Linked DNA regions of Homo sapiens: region 2 is linked to region 1. Evidence: promoter capture Hi-C in 16 types of primary human blood cells and fetal thymus (Javierre and others, 2016). All regions are on one chromosome and are shown on one strand. The core of a region is centred on a gene start or on the middle of the fragment in contact, and the rest is flanking DNA. Distances in the headings are between cores, read along the strand shown. Region 1 holds the start of MIPEP (mitochondrial intermediate peptidase). Region 2 overlaps SPATA13 (spermatogenesis associated 13).

Region 1 (3,238 bases), core at 464-2,963:
ATATTTAAAATAGCTGCATGGTTTATTCTAATTTATTTCACATTTCTTATTCCTATTATCTGAAGAATCCTTTGTCTGTGCATTTCTTGTGGGAAGAGTGTTTTGATATCATTTTAGTGCTCTGAGGAGTCATATGAAGATGTATCCCTCATCTGTGTTTCTGAGGACATTAAGGGGAAATTAGAGGGAAATGTTTATTCCATTTAGTACTAGTAACAGCTTTAAGCTGGTGATGCTGTCACACTCCAGAAAGCTGTAGACACTGCTCATTTTGTCTTTTTTTAAAAAATGTATTTTTAAGTTCTGGAATACATATGCAGAACGTGCAGGTTTGTTACATAAAAATGTGCTGTGGTGGTTTGCTGCATCTGTCAACCCATCACCTATGCAGGTATTAAGCCCTGCATGCATTAGCTATTTGTCCTGGTGCTTTCCCTCCCATTTTGCTCATTTTCTAACCTAGGTTTTAATCACCATTCTATCCAACAAATCATTGTTTGATCATTATTTGCCAGACATGAATCTCTACTTGTTTTCTAGGATCGCCCTAATAAAGTACACAAACTGGGAGTCTTTAAACAACAGAAACGGACTTTCTCACAGTTCTGTAGGCTGGAAGTTTGAGATCACCGTAGCAGCAGGGCCATCCTCCCTCCAAAGGGGATACAGGAGGATGCAGCCTTGCTGCTTCCAGCTTCTGGCAGCTGGTGGCAGCATCACTCCAGTCCCCGCCTCCATCTTCAGGTGGCTGTCCTCCTCCTGTATCAGCCAAATTTTCCTCTTCTTACAAGAACAGCTTCCCTAATCTAGTATGACCCATCTTAATCATAATTGCAAACTCCATATTTTCAAATAAGGTCACATGTACAGGCACCGAGGGTTAGGACTTCAGCATCTATTTTGGGAGACACAGTTCAACCCAATCTGCCCTCTGGTTCCCAAAATTGATTTCCTTCTCATGTGCAAAATACATTTTCGCACCATGTCAACATTACCAAAAGTCTTAACACTTTCCGCATCAACTCCTCTCACCATCTACATCATTTAAATAAGCTACAGAGGAGACTTACTGTGTGATTCATCGTGTGGCAAAATGTCTCTCCATCTGTGATCCTGTGAAGCGAGACGAGTTAATCCACTTCTAAAAGACCGGGGGTTGGAGGGGGAGACAGGCATAGGGTAGACAATCCATTCCAAAAGAGAGAAAGGGGAAGGAAAAAAGGGTTCACGGGTCCCAGGCAATTCTGAAACCCTGGAGGGAAAATCCCATTAGACTTCTTTCACTATTTCCCATCTAAAATTTTTAACTGAGCTATGCAAGAGTAAAAAGTTACCGGACAGAGACACCAAACAGAGAAGTGCAGGATAAATTTACCAAGAGAGTAGGTTAAAAGGGAAACTTCTCCTTCAGGCCTATGGTGGGCATTTCTTGTTTACTCAAGTACCTGCCGTCTCTCAAAGAATATCTAATGTCCACTGGAATTCGAATATGTCATGATTTTACTCGCGCCCACCCCTAGTCAACTTGGGAGGGAAGCGCAACCCTAGCCTTTTCTTACTCTGGACACAGGGGGCGGTAAACCGGGAGGGCGGCCGAGAAGGCGAGGGGGAGCGACGCTCTTGCTCTCTGGACGACAACGTGCCCACGTCCTGAGGCCGCGCCCAGACCCGGAAGCGGGGCCGTCACGTGGGGCGGCGTGGGCTGCTGCCTTGGAAACGCGGAGCGCGCGCTCCCAGCGAAAGCAGCAGGGCAGGGATCTGCGTTGGAGGAAGGGACTGCTCTGGTGCTAGAATGCTGTGCGTCGGAAGGCTGGGCGGCTTGGGAGCCAGAGCAGCAGCTCTGCCGCCCCGCCGGGCGGGCCGGGGAAGCCTCGAAGCCGGGATCCGGGCCCGAAGGGTCAGCACCAGCTGGTCTCCCGTGGGCGCCGCCTTCAATGTCAAGCCCCAGGGCAGCCGCTTGGACCTGTTCGGCGAGCGCCGGGTGAGCGGCGCAGGAGGAGCTCCCCTCAGTCCCCGAGCTAAGCCGACCCCTGCTCCGCGCGGCCAGCAACAATCAGGGCGAGATTGTTTGGGCCTGGGAGGAGGCGAGCAGCGAACCCACCTTTTACAGTGGCGTCTTGTGTGCGCTCTCGATGAGGGCAAGGTCACCTCTGCTTTGAGGGGCCGGGTTTAGTGGTCTCCTACCCAGAGTGTCGGGTCCGGGAACTGCTTCTGCATGAGCCCCTTGCTCCACGTGAATCTGAATAGTTCGTTCTGGCAGTGGCGGTGAATTCGTCCTGCCAGGACCCGCCCTCTGCATACACTCAGGCGCACCCCTGCTAAAGCCCTTTAGCTCCAGCGCTACAGTCCTGCCTTAAGAGGCCTATCCCTGTGCGTTCACAGGCGGCATCACATGGTCTTTTTGCAAGGACACGGCTGCCTGCAGTCGAGTAATGGTAATTTCATTAATACCTGAAATTCCATCATCTATTAATTAATTTATTTCAAAGCTTTGGGCTTTCTTGTTTTAAAACACAAAACTCTGTTGAGACGAGTCTCACTTCCCATAGTGCCATGGAATTGGTCACTTTGATTTCTTACCCCAGGAAGTCACTAGCCTGCGTTGTCTAGTGAAAGGTGAGAGGAAGGCAAGGTTGGAAAGGACTTACCTGATGCCTGTTCTACTTGGAGTTTGTACATTTTGTCCGTTTTAGGTTAAGGATTACTTTTATTTTTGCCTTTTAAAATTTCGTTATACTGTATTGCCTTATAAAGACAAGTCTAGGGTATTGTTGCACTGAGCTAAAGTGTGTGATTCTTGTTTTATCTCCATTATCAGTTTTGTCTATTTAAAAATTATTTTGTGTGAAATTTGCTACACCACCTTCCTTAAGGGTATGTAGTGTTGGTATTAACATAGTTGGTGTGAAGAGACCTACTTGTAGGCGCTGAGCAGAAAGACGTGAGGGGAAGCCTGATTTTGGGTGGATGAGATATAACTAATTTTAGCTTTTATTTTTCCCTTTTTGTATCATGATATTCGGCACTGATAGCAGATTTTCAAATTTTAGAATTGATTTTTGCCTTGAAAAAAAAAAAGCCTTATTCAGTTTTTTAGCATTATGGTCACTGGTAATCCGATAGTTAGAATTCCCGAGAGCAATATGGGCAGGTTGTACTGGGAAGTGGAAGTAGTCTGTGCTTGAATCAAATTAAATCAGTATAAAGATGACATTTGTTTTTGGTCCTGATTTTCCTT
Region 2 (3,238 bases), core at 237-2,736, 330 kb before region 1:
TCTAATGTTTCCCACACTGCCCGGTCATTCTGCTTTCCTTGTCTGCCTTCTCCACTAACCTCTCTGAGGAGCATGGAAAGTTCTCTATAGGCAGAAGCCTTGTCTTATTTCACTGTGTTCTCAGCATGTGTCTGTTGAATGACTGGCTGAAGGGGCTGCTGGCTTTGCACATCTCAGGTCTGATACCCCAACATCTGGGCCAGATGGTTCTTTGTTGTGGGAGCAGACCTGTGCTTTGTAGGATGTCTAGCAGCAACTGTGGCCACTGATGCTATTAGGAAGAAGAATTGTAATAAAAAGAGAGAGAGTGCTGAAAACCATGAATGTGCTACCAATTAGTTTCAGAATAGTTTTTCTGAAATTACTGGAAAAAAGTTTTAAGAGACTCAATCTTGCTATGTTGCCCGGGGTGGCCTCAAATTCTTAGACTCAAGTGATCCTCTCACCTCATCCTCCAAGTAGCTGGGATAACAGGTACATACCATGGCCAGTTAAAACCACTGAAATTTATCATTTCCTTTTTTTTGTTTTTGTTTTTGTTTGTTTGTTTTGTTTTGAGACAGAGTCTTGCTCTGTCATCCAGGCTGGAGTACACAGTGGCACAATTTCAGCACACTGCAACCTCGCCTCCCACACTCAAGTGATCCTCCCACCTCAGCCTCCCAAGTATCTGAGATTGCAGGCACATGCCACTATGCCCCACTAATTTTTGTATTTTTAGTAGAGACAGGGTTTCACTATGTTGGCCAGGTTGGTCTCAAACTCCTGACCTCAAATCGTCCTCCCACCTTGGCCTCCCAAAGTATTGGGATTACAGGCATGAGCCACCATGCCCAGCCATAATTTACAACATTCATAAAGAGAAAGCATCCAAGGTCCTAATTTCAGAGATGAAGTTATTCCCCAGGCCTAATGCCAGACACCGTCCTTCCTCTTCCTAGCCCCAATATACATACCTTAGTAAAAGAAAGAAGCCCCCTTACCCTTTGATCTGGTACCTTCAGGGTCTCTCTGTGTAAGGAGTAGGTAAGATGCTTCAAAAGAGCATCTGTAGCTCTGGCGTCACTTAAGTATTCAATCACTGAAGTTCAATGTTTGTGAATTGAAAGTATATGGACAAATGCAACTAGAATAAGCGTATCTTTTGGAAAGGTGTCAATTTCATACAAGCGTGTGATTGTCTTGGCTTGCCTTATGGGGGTTACTGGGCTAAAACACATTCCTGTGGGTGAGAATGGTGTTTCCCCAATAGGGATTCATATTTGCTTTGTCAATCCTCTGGGGTGATGGGGTGCAGAAAACAAGGATTTGCAAAGGCAGGTCTTAGACCACAAAGGAAAATCTTCCTTCTGTGTCTAAAGTTGCAGGTCAGGCTGGTGTAGTGAGAGATGAAAGGGCAGGTAGGTCTGAGCTTGTGCGAAAGATGCTGGCATCCTCCATAATGCCCCTCCCTGCCTGCGTCCCCAACCTCTGCACAGTGACAGCCTCTGAGCTCCTCTTCCTCCAATCTCACAGCAACCTTGGAAGGCTCCAGGGGAGCTGTTGCCAGTCACAGCCCTCAGCCCTGAAGACTGCCCTGCGTCTTGACTTCCTACAGCCATGGCCTGTCCACCACCTTTCTGGTGGTAAACAAGATTGCAGCAGTAACAATGAAGTTCCCGGTTAGGACTACCTCATGCCTGCAACCCATGCCAAAACTGATGTCACCACAAGACTGCACCTCCCCCACATTTACCATTCAGGGCAATGAAAATTTTCCAGATGGATGGCCCTAATCCTGAAGGCACTGTGATGGTCACTGGAGCAAAAACAATGTCTCTGCTTGGCAGAGGCAGACTGGCCCAAATCTGGAGCTGTGTTCACTGAGTTCACAGGCTAAGTCACCCAACAGTGCAGTCAGCACAGAATACCCCTAAAGGGAATGATGTAGCTTTTACATCCACAGCTTAATTAGACATACTTAATAACTGTGTGTAAGAGCATATATGTGTGTTGCATTTTATTTTTGCTGCATTTATTTTAGTGTTCAATTTTTTTGTCTTTGCATAAAATGTGTTTCCAGGCAGAGCCCCAATTTATAGCTTTGCATTCTGAGGAAATGAGATTAATTTTCAACTCAGCTTCCACCCAGCAGCCTATCAGGTCTTAAGGTAGGGGATGTCCCCACAGACCATTTTGCCACTGTTGAGGACAGAGGCCCAGAAGAGGCCCTTTCCCTGTGCTGTGCAATCAAGTGTCTCATCCTCTCAAATTAGTTTTACACATTAAAGCAGTTGCTGAAATGCCTTCTGCTTCTAATTTAAACTGTCTTCTAATTGAACTGAGATTTGCATATTGTTTTCTTGCAAGCCCTCCCTGCCTCTTGGCACACATCTCCTCATTTAGGACATGCACGACAGTCATGTGACATGATGCCACCAATGAACCAAGCCAGAGGTGACCAGCTACTCCTCCTGAACAGGGGTCCCTGGAGCACACACCCCATCTCTCAGAGGCGATCTGTGAGACTTTGTTAGAGGTGGAGGTTCTCATTGCCAGCGCGTCCTCAGGGAGACGCTGTGCTCGAACATAACCAACACACAGAATTCAGGAATACTCTGGTATAATATCCCAGGGACATGGCTCCTTTGACACAGCTTAATAATGTTTTAAATATGTCAGATGCTCAGTGGGGACTGAAATGAAAGCAAGTACTATATTCTGACTTTTGCGAGAAGTTCAAAACCAGCTGAGTTTAGTTGCTAGGAAAACTAAAGAATCACTAATACTTAAATATGTTGAATCTCAAAAAGGAAAGCGGAGATGCAAGATGAGACAAGGTTATGTTACCCTTTACAAGGCAGAAGCAAATGGGAAGTGAGAGTCCCCATGCAACTAAGGAGGGAAACAGATGTGCTGCTGACAACACAGATGCAGGGAACCCAGTGATGACTGGACAACACCAGGGAGCATCCCTCTCAGCAAGACTGAGGGACAGGTGAAGGGGAGGAAGGGCAGCAGCTGAGGCTAAGAATTTGGGGTCAGGGTTCTTTGCTTTGAATTGCTTTGTTATGTGACCTGTGCTAGTCACACAACATCCCTGAACCCAGCTTTCTCCATGGGATCCTAAAATTTCTTTTAGAGCAGTTTCTTTTACTTTTAGAGAAGCACATGCATTGTAAAGAGAAAATTCTCATCAAAATATTAATTATTCTCATGGCGTGACACCTTTCTTGGTAACATGTAAAGTTGATAGTTA

The links. Contacts are between HindIII fragments. The CHiCAGO score rates a contact against its expected background, and 5 or more counts as called.
Region 2: a fragment that was not itself captured here is called in contact with the fragment with the promoter of MIPEP in region 1 in 9 of 17 cell types (total CD8 T cells, naive CD8 T cells, naive CD4 T cells and 6 more); the score reaches 12.6 in total CD8 T cells.

What each region holds. Positions count from the first base shown.
Region 1 is chr13:23,887,875-23,891,112 of GRCh38, reverse strand. MIPEP (mitochondrial intermediate peptidase) reads left to right here and starts at 1,713. Exons shown (of 19, transcript NM_005932.4): 1 at 1,713-1,981. The coding sequence starts at 1,793. PCOTH (prostate and testis expressed opposite C1QTNF9B and MIPEP) reads right to left here and starts at 2,245. Exons shown (of 4, transcript NR_172510.1): 1 at 2,102-2,245; 2 at 1,071-1,113. C1QTNF9B (C1q and TNF related 9B) reads left to right here. Exons shown (of 5, transcript NM_001007537.3): 5 at 1-14. RefSeq lists enhancers at 1,314-1,373, 1,433-1,933. The HindIII fragment of the contact is 13,692 bases long and covers 1-2,491 here.
Region 2 is chr13:24,214,370-24,217,607 of GRCh38, reverse strand. All of the region lies in intron 1 of SPATA13 (spermatogenesis associated 13), which reads right to left. Among named protein-coding and RNA genes, the nearest start is that of SPATA13-AS1, 38 kb to the left of the region's middle. RefSeq lists an enhancer at 1-62. The HindIII fragment of the contact is 4,973 bases long and covers 1-3,238 here.